Regions from separate parts of the Homo sapiens genome. Here region 2 is linked to region 1. Evidence: promoter capture Hi-C in 16 types of primary human blood cells and fetal thymus (Javierre and others, 2016). All regions are on one chromosome and are shown on one strand. The core of a region is centred on a gene start or on the middle of the fragment in contact, and the rest is flanking DNA. Distances in the headings are between cores, read along the strand shown.

Region 1 (5,100 bases), core at 723-3,222:
CCCTCCCGGGCTGGGCGGGGTGTTCTCCGCCCAGAATCTTTCTTCGTGGAGTACCCAGGATCCCGCGGAGCTGCGCGCCGGGGTCAGACTGTTCCTCGCAAAGTGCTCAGCACGCCAAGGTGCCAAGGGCACCAAGGAGCCGGCTTTGGGTAGCTCCGGGTGGAGAAAGTCGGGGACACAAACCCGGGAAAGGGGGAAAAGCGCTCCAAGAAGGGTGGCCCCTGGCTTTGGTCTCCGGCGTGACCCTGGCGCCCGCTGACGCTGCCCCAGACTTTCTCCTGTGTTGCTCCCACCGCTTCCGTCCAAGGCTCTCTGGGGAACTGGGAAGGCGAGGAGGAAAGTACAGCAGCTGGGAGCCCATTTGCCCCACCAGGTGCCCCAGTGACCCGCTCATCCCTGCTTAGCACCAGAGCTGACTTATGAAGGGGCGAGGGTGAGAGGACACGCTCCCTGGCGGGAGCTAAGGTGAGGCCAGACAGGCTCGCTTCCCTTCCTGGTTACCTGTCCCCCACCCGGAGAGCGGCTGCTGCTGCACGGGGAAACGATGTCTGGGGAGATGACCCTGCTGAGGAGCGAGGTGGCGGGCGTGGGGACAGAGTCAGGCGTCTTCAGATCGGTGCTGGTCGAACTGCCTGTCCCGCCTAGGAGGCTCTCACCTGCTTGGACACCTCCTCCCTGAGCTCCCGAAACCCCACTCTCAGCCGAGCGGCGTAGGCGCGACATCCCTGGGACGTGGAGACTCCGAGCTGCCGGAGCCAAGGTTCCCCGGCCTCCAGGGAGCAGGCCTCGGGCATCGGGGCTTCTCTTTCCATCTTCATCCAATTCCCCTTGCAGCTCGGAGCTTACCCCAAGCTCTTTGAGGACCCTGTCCCCACTGGGAACCTGTTCTGGAAACCCAAGATACTCTATCTCGTCTGGGACCACGAGAGAATAATTTGGGGTTCTTTCCAAGGACCCTTTCGAGGAGCTTTAGGCTGTCCCTGCCCCTCCTTCCCGCACCCCGGGACCGGTTAGGGAGAAGCCAAAGTCCCTTCTCCTGAAGGGACCTATCCAGGGAAGCCGGAGTGGCTGTCCCGCCCAGGGCCAGTCTTTGAGAATCGGGTACCCTCTCCTTCAGGGACTGAGCGGGGAAAGCTGGAGTGGCTGCCTTGCCCGGGACCCGACCAAGAGAAGCCTGGGTCCCCTCCAGACCGATTTGGAGAAAGGCAGTTTTACTTCCCTCCTGCAGACGGCCGGGGGAGAAGCGAGCCTCCCTTGCAGTCAGGCCGGCGTGACGTGTGGCTCAGTTACATCCTCCGCCTGGGAACCGCGCGTCGGAAACGCGGGGTGCCTCTCCTGGCTGCGGCCCCCGCGACGGCCCGGGACGCTGGATTATGATCCGCGCCGAGCTCGCGACTGCAAGGGCCGAGGGCAGCCAGGACAGAAGGGCCCTTGCCGGGCTGCACCCGCGCCACGCGCCCGGAGACCGCGCGCCCTCCTCCGGCACCGCGAGGTCGGCGCCCTCCGGGGACCGGGTCCCGCTCTCCTAATGCCACGCCGGGCGGCCACTTACCGCGGTAGCTGGTTCCCGGCTTGTAGAAGTCGGGGTCGCCCTCCACGCGGAGGCTGAACTCGGTGTAGCCCTCGCGCCGCGTGCCCTGGGCGCGCAGGATACGGCTGCAGTAGCCCTCTGACTTGGGCACTTTGTCCAGGGTCTCGTCGGAGAAGGCCAGCGCCGCGGCCAGGGGCAGCGCCAGGGCCAGCAGTGCCGGAGTCCGGCTCAGCTTCAGGGGCGCCGGGGACAGCCTCATCTTCGCGGCCCCCAACTTTGTGCCGCGGCCGCAGGCCTTCGCCACGCGACTCCTGCCCGAAGTGGTCCCGACGAAGGCGCGACCTGGCGGAGGCGCGGCGGAGAGAGGGAGCTCGGAGCTGGCGTCCGCGACTCGGAGACCGTGCCCGCCTCGGCTTGGCGGCCGCGGAGCTGCGCTGAGCTGAGCTGAGCTGAGCCAAGCGAACGAGAGCAGCGCGAGGAGGGGAGGGCCGCGGCGAAGGAGCGGGAGGAGGGAGGGCTGATTTTGCCCAGATCCCCCAGCGCAGCGCTGTTTTGTTTCCTCCGAACTGGCGATTAGCGGCGCGGCCGTGTTTATTTTGCGACGTTGGATTCCCAGGGTCTGACGAAGAAACCGTGGCATACCGGACCCTGTGGGCTCTGTCCCATCGCCTAGGAGGCTGCTGCTCCAACCCCCAGCTACACTCCGGACCCTCTGGAGGACGGCGCTCAGAGGAGGGAAAGCCTGAGAAATAACTTTTGTTGCACACCTGCTCTGTGCCTAGCAATATGCTTGGCGGCTTACTTACTGTATCGACTCGCCTTCATGTTCCCTACTCCCAATAAAGATTACATTACTTTCGCTCACTTTATAGATGAGCAAACTGTGACTTGCGACCAGTTACAGCAGGGTTAGATGCGGCGACTCCGGGCCCATTGCTCTTCCCAAGGCCATAGTGGAACATGTCAGACTGGAGGCTGAGAAAGGAGAAACGACTTAGCTACAGCGCTTAGGGCCCACGATACTTTTGGAGATCTATGAAAATGTTTTCTGTAAAAATCAGAAGAAAAAATTTATGTCAAACAAAATGTTTTACTATATAATGTTAATATATTTGTATTTATACCTCCACAGTCATAAAATATGCTTGACTTGGAGGAAAGAGCCAGCAAAGGCAAAAGTGCCTAAGGCTCAGGAAGGTCCTCCTACAGCCCAGGAAAGGAGTTTCCAAAGATTCAATGAAGAGCCTGTGTTTTCTTGGCTTACATTTTAGTTCAGATTCTCACTCCCCAGGGACAGATGTTCAGAGAGGTGCTGAGCCTGAGGGCCTGAAGGGAAAAGACCTGGGGCAAGAATCTCTCCCAGTGTCTCTCTGGGAAGAGACCCGAATCAAACCTCAGTCCTGCCACTCACCCATTGTGAAGCTTGGGCTAGTTATCGCACTCTCCAAGCTTGTTTCCTGCTCTGGAGAACAAGGAAGTGGGGGTGGGTGCCAGTACATCCTTCTTAGAGGTAGTGGGGTGATATGCTAGAAGTAAATGATATGACCCATATAAAACACTCTAGTTGGTCTCTAGTGGCGCCTGCTCCCTCACCCGCTTGGGGATACCATAAGCCCCCTGCCTCTCAGTGCACACAAACATCCCTCCCCAGGTGCCCTCAGAAGCTTTGGTTTCCTCGTCTTCTCTTTGCCCAGGGCCTTCGACACACCTCAAGTGCCTACAATTAGCAAGCAATCTCCTTTGCTTTCCAGGTCAGGGTTTTCTCTTTCATAATGCTACAAACAGGCCCAGGGCGCTAGGTGCATGGGAGATCTCCATTCCTCCCTGCCTGCCCACTTACTCCTTAGTGCTTGTGCTGGAATTCCCACTGCCACTATTAACTGGACGCCTTCTCTCAGAGGTCACCTGAAAGTAACCCCTTGCTGAAGCCAATTATGCTCTTCTCTCATCCCTAGCCCTTCTTGACCCTAGCAGCACCTGATCCAGCTGATCGGCCCTCCTTTTTGAGGTGAGGCTCAGATCCATGTCTGAGTGCTGAGGGAATTGTCTGCATCTTCACTCGACTGGCTCAGAGCTCATGCTGCACTCCAAGTTGCACGGTCCCATTCATCCAGCAAACTTTCATTAAGTGTAGATTTGGAGCTAGACTCTGTGCTGACCGGTAGGTAGAAGACGGAACAAAAATTCATCCATCCATCCATCCATGCATCCTTCTATCCATCCATTCATTCATGACAAAGACCCTCCACGTGCTCAGTGCTTGGATACAAAACACAGATATGTTACTTGCCTTTGAGGATTTTACAGGCCTGTGGCAAAGGCAAATATTAAATACATAATTATATGAATCTTTTAAAATTATAATTGTGATGTATGCTACAAACTAAAATAAGTGGTTCTTGAAAGTGTACCTGATCTTATCTCAGAGGGCAGGAAACTACAGAAATGAATAAATTGTGACCCCTGTCTTCACAAAGCTTATTTTATGTCTGAAAGCTCAAATCTGTGCTCTTGAACCTCTATTCATCTACAAAAGGTTCAAATCTAAGTTGGAGATGGGTGGGCATGAAGTAGGCAGGAATGCAATATTTAACTTTTTATTGGATATTGACAGGAAAACTATGGGAAGTAGGCAGTCCCAATTCACCTCCGCACTCCCATTGTTCAGATTAGGAGCCTATGAAATTACCTGCTGAGGTAATGTTCCATGGCTATTAAGGGAAAGAGCCAGGATTTAAAACAGGCATCCCCAACACCAAATGAGGTACTTTCCAGTACACAGTGTTCGCCCTATCATCTGGGCTATGACGGCAGGCTCTAACCAGCTCACCAAGCTCCAATCCCACTACATGAGCTAGGTTTTCCTAAACCAGCTTGGCTGTCACTCAGACCTCTGCTGTCTTCTCCACTCATCCGATCCATCACCACATCAAGTTTCACGCTCTTCTCCACCACTACCCCTGTCTGTGTTGACATCCTCTCTCATCTTCCTAACTGGGTTGCCCTTGTCTACTTGTGCTCTCCTTCCATCTGTCTTCTGCACTGAAGCCCAAGTGATCTTTTTAAAAATGCAGATTTGAATGTCAATCCTGAGGTTAACATTTTTTCTTGGTGGTTTTTCAGGGCTCTCAGAATAAAGACAGAATCTTCAGCCAGGCCTCCAAGGCTCTGCTTGATCTGCTTCTCCAGCCATGCAGCTCTTCTCTCATGGGCTTTGCCTGTGCTGTTCTCTCTGCCTGGAATCCTATCATGCTCTTTGGTCTCTCCTAGCCACCACTCTCCATTGGCCAACTCCTATGTACTCTTCAGATCTCAGTGCAAAACTGCCTCCCCAAAGAAGGCCTTTCTGATTTCCTAGAATAGATCCAGCCCCCAAAACTCTGCTGAAGCTCATGAGTACCTTTTCTTTTAATCTCCTCCTCCTCCTCCTCCTTCTTCTTCCTTCTTCCTCCTCCCTCTCCTCCTCCTCCTTCTTCTTTCTCCTTTCTCCTTTCCTCTTTCTTCTTTCTTCTTGAGGCAGGGTCTTCCTATGTTGCTCAGGTTGGTCTCAAACTCTTGGGCTCAAGCAA
Region 2 (4,623 bases), core at 41-2,540, 250 kb before region 1:
GTATTACCTACACAACTCCTGGGTGGATAACACAGGGAATTCTTCCAACGCTTCCTCATTCCAAGATTTGATCCGGCTAGGGATGGGGGCCCTACGCGCAGAGGACCAGAGCCGAGAGTTCTTTCCCCAGGACAACATGGAGTGAAAGGCTAAAACTTAAGGAAGGAAGCAAAACCAAAAACCATGTAAAAAGGACCAGATTTAAGAAGCTAAGCTTTGGAGGTCATCAAATTGAAGAGGTTCAGAGGCATGTTTGGGAGTAAGCATTTGGATGGGACAAATGCAATGAGGAATAGGAAAGTAACCATAGGTGACCTGGGAACAACATGATTGTGTGCTTGTGTGCACACATGGGTTTGATGGACTAGCTTAGAATAGTTGCTTGTGTTTGCTGACATCTGGGGCATAATACATAGGTGCATTGGCTGGCTCACCTAAAAATCTAAGAGAACACATCCTTATAAAAAAGCCTGCTTACATTTCAAGATGCAACCCAAATGCAACTTGCTCATGAAGTCCTTGCTAATCCATCCCTGGGATATGTACTTCAGTACAGCGTGGCTTATGTACTGACTTTAATATTTATTTCCATTTCCCTTGTATTATAGCTAGTCAATTATTTGGCTATTTCCTCAGCTCAACTGAAGGACTCTTGAGGCTGGAGACTGTTTCCTATTCTTACTTAATAGCATATAGCTTTGTACATAGAAAGTGCTTTGTACATAGAAAGTGCTCAATAAATATCGTTTGATTAATTACTATTGTCAACCTTTGACTTGTTTTTCTGTTGACATTTATAAATGGATTAGGAGTGTTTTTAATAGTGCATTTTTCTTTAAATGACACAATAAACACAAATCCATCGCTAAGGAGCCCAAAATAAATCTTAAGCAGGAGAGTTAAACATATTTAAGAAAAAAAAAAAAGGAATGAGAAACAAGAGAAGGATTTGGAAGCTGAACATTTCTCTCTGTCTGAGACTAGCTCCAGGCAAATGAAAGCCCTCTGATGAAAACTTCATCAGCCTTTTCTTACACAAAGTGTTTTCTGACCATTTTTTCTACAGTGTCTCTCCTATTTGGACACAGAGTTTCATTTATTAATCAAACATAATTGGGCTCCATTTCAAAAGGATGAACAAAGCTCATTTTGTTGTCCCATTGAAAAGCTGGGTTCAGTCTGGGTCATGGTGTTTGTCAGCATCTCTGTTTCCAGGCCCTAAAGGCTTGGATGCAGGCACAGGACAACTGGGGGCCTGGTCAATTTCCCACTCTCAGAAGCCCTTAAAAGAGTCTCTCCCAAGCTCTGGAGACTGTGTTTACTGACTATGAATATAAGGACTACACTTCCACATTTTGCTTGGCAAGAAGAGTCTAGATGGCCTCTTGTCAATTCTGTCATTTCTCACAGCATAGACCCATCTTTTGATGATCCACCCACAAATGATGCTCAGACATTCGATTATCAGAGTTGGTACTCTTTCCTTCAGTGGCTCCCCATTGCTTATATGTTGCTTCTGAAAATACTGGAAAGACTATGAAAAATAGACAACCCATGCAAATATAATTAAAGAACAGCAAAAAAGGAGACAAACAGCATTAGGAAAGAGAACAGTGTAATATCTTCTACTTAGTGAGGACAGGCACTGTGCTAAGAACTTCATATACATCATCTGTAATCCTCACAGCAATCCTATACTCTAAGTAATATGACCCCTATTTATAGGGAAATGATGATAGAAGTCAAGTTACTTGGTTAAAGTCACATGAATCAGTGGTGGAACCTGGATGAGAATTCAGGTCTGACTCAATATATTCAGTAGCAAAAGGAATTAAACCACTTATATGGAATACTATGTCTAATTATATGCTAACTGACTGAAAACCTGAACAAATGGATGATATTTTATAATAAACATATATGATTTTAATTCAATCTTATATTTAAAAATGACGCAATGAGGTAGGAAACCCTATTAAAGCAGTAATGGAGGTAGAAATTTTTTAAAAATTCAGAATATCCCCAAAAAGCAAGGCATACAGATCTAATGGATTCCTCCAAGCTCACAAGGAACAGATAATTCCCAAGCTATGCTGACTGCATCAAAGCACAGACAAGGCCGGACTCCATCTAATTATTCTGTGTGACAAATTTGATCTTAAGGAAGGTTACTAAAGAAATGCAAAAAAAAAAAATCAATAAAAGACTAACATTATATTAACATTAGATGACATAATCTATTTCAATATATGTCAAAAGAAAAATTGATAAAACCTTTACTTGGAGTGATACTATTTACTACCTTAACTTGATAAAGATACCTATTTTAAATAATGAATCAATAATGGATTAAGATTAAAAGCTTTTTTTTTCAAAAATTGGCCCCTGAAAATAATATAGCTACTATTATAACATAATATTGCTTTAGACAAACTGCAAAAGACTTAAAGGACAATAATTACTGGGAAAGAAGAAAAAATATTTACAAAGAATTTGCTGTACACCTGGAACTAAATCAACCAGTTTAGAAAGAGGACAGTTTGGTATTAAAATTCAAAGGTCAGTAGCATTACTATGCCCAATATATTACTATACACCATGTTTTCATATATACTACATTACTATATACATTATTATACACAAGCAGTAAACCCCTAGAAAACTACACGTATAATAATATAAGAATATAAGATGCTAATTCTGTGAAGAAAGTCAGTGGTAGCTTGATGGGGATAGCACTGAATCTACAAATTACTTTGGGCAGTATGGCCATTTTCATGATATTGATTCTTCCTATCCATGAGCATGGAATGTTTTTCCACTTGTTTGTGTCCTCTCTTATTTCCTTGAGCAGTGGTTTGTAGTTCTCCTTGAAGAGGTCCTTCACATCCCTTGTAAGTTGTATTCCTAGGTATTTTATTCTCTTTGTAGCAATTGTGAATGGGAGTTCGCTCATGATTTGGCTTTCTGTTTGTCTGTTATTGGTGTACAGGAATGCTTGTGATTTTTGCACACTGATTTTGTATCCTGAGACTTTGCTGAAGTTGCTTCTCAGTTTAAGGAGATTTTGGGCTGAGACGATGGGGTTTTCTAAATACACAATCATGTCATCTGCAAACACAGACAATTTGACTTCCTCTTTTCCTAGTTGAATACCCTTTATTTCTTTCTCTTGCCTGATTGCCCTGGCCAGAACTTCTTTAAATTTCATATGGAACCTAAAAAGAGCCCGTATAGCCAAGACAATCCTAAGGAAAAAGAACAAAGCCAGAGGCATCACACTACCTGACTTCAAACTATACTACAAGTCTACAGTAACCAAAACAGCATGGTACTGGTATCAAAACAGATATATAGACCAATGGAACAGAACAGAGGCCTCAGAAATAATGCCACACATCTACAACAATCTGATCTTTGACAAACCTGACAAAAACAAGCAACGGGGAAAGGATTTCCTATTTAATAAATGGTGTTGGGAAAACTGGCTAGCCATATGCAGAAAACTGAAACTGGACCCCTTCCTTACACCTTATACAAAAATTAACTCAAGATAGATCAAAGACTTAAATATAAGACCTAAAACCATCAAAACCCTAGAAGAAAACCTAGATGCCCGGGTGCGGTGGCTCATGCCTGTAATCCTCCTAGCACTTTGGGAGGCCAAGGTGGGTGGATCACGAGGTCAGGAGATTGAGACCAGCTTGGTCAACATAGTGAAACCTCATCTCTACTAAAACTATAAAAATTAGCCAGGCATGGTGGCTTGTGCCTGTAAGTCCCAGCTACTCGGGAGGCTGAGGCAGGAGAATCGCTTGAACCCGGGTGGTGGAGGTTGCAGTGAGCTGAGATTGTGCCACTGCACTCCAGCTTGCTTGGGCAACAGAGTGAGACTTCGACAAAAACAAACACAAAAAACAAAAAACAAAAAAAAAAAAAAAGGAAAAAGAAAACCTATACTATTCAGGACATAGGCATGGGCAAAGACTTCATGAGAAAAACACCAAAAGCAATGGCAACAAAAGCCAAAACTGACAAATGAGATCTAATTAAACTAAAGAGCTTCTGCACAGCAAAAGAAACTACCATCAGAGTGAACAGGCAACCTACAGAATGGGAGAGAATTTTTGCAATCTATCCATCTGACAAAGGTCTAATATCCAGAATCTACAAGGAATTTAAACAAATTTACAAGAAAAATACAAACAACCCCATCAAAAAGTGGGCAAAGAATATGAACAGACACTTCTCAGAAGAAGACATTTACATGGCCAACAAACATACGAAAAAAAGCCCATCATCGCTGGTCATTAGAGAAATGCAAATCAAAACCACAATGAGATACCATCTCATGCCAGTTAGAATGGTGATCATTAAAAAGTCAGGAAACAACAGATGCTGGAGAGGATGTGGAGAAATAGGAATGCTTTTACAGTGTTGGTGGGAGTATAAATTAGTTCAACTATTGTGGAACACAGTGTGGCAATTCCTCAAGGACCTAGAACTAGAAATACCATTTGACCCAGCAATCCATTACTGGGTATATACCCAAAGGATTATAAATCATTCTACTATAAAGACACATGCACACACATGTTTATTGCAGCACTATTTATGATAGCA

The links. Contacts are between HindIII fragments. The CHiCAGO score rates a contact against its expected background, and 5 or more counts as called.
Region 2: a contact is called between a fragment that was not itself captured here and the fragment with the promoter of SPON1 in region 1, in 1 of 17 cell types (M2 macrophages). The highest score is 5.8, in M2 macrophages.

The regions. Positions count from the first base shown.
Region 1 is chr11:13,959,595-13,964,694 of GRCh38, reverse strand. It overlaps SPON1 (spondin 1), which reads right to left and starts at 1,972. Exons shown (of 16, transcript NM_006108.4): 1 at 1,553-1,972. The coding sequence starts at 1,790. LOC124902637 (a long non-coding RNA gene) reads right to left here and starts at 1,538. Exons shown (of 2, transcript XR_007062602.1): 1 at 1-1,538. The HindIII fragment of the contact is 7,695 bases long and covers 1-2,955 here.
Region 2 is chr11:14,209,692-14,214,314 of GRCh38, reverse strand. All of the region lies in intron 6 of SPON1 (spondin 1), which reads right to left. Among named protein-coding and RNA genes, the nearest start is that of RRAS2, 150 kb to the left of the region's middle. The HindIII fragment of the contact is 2,148 bases long and covers 217-2,364 here.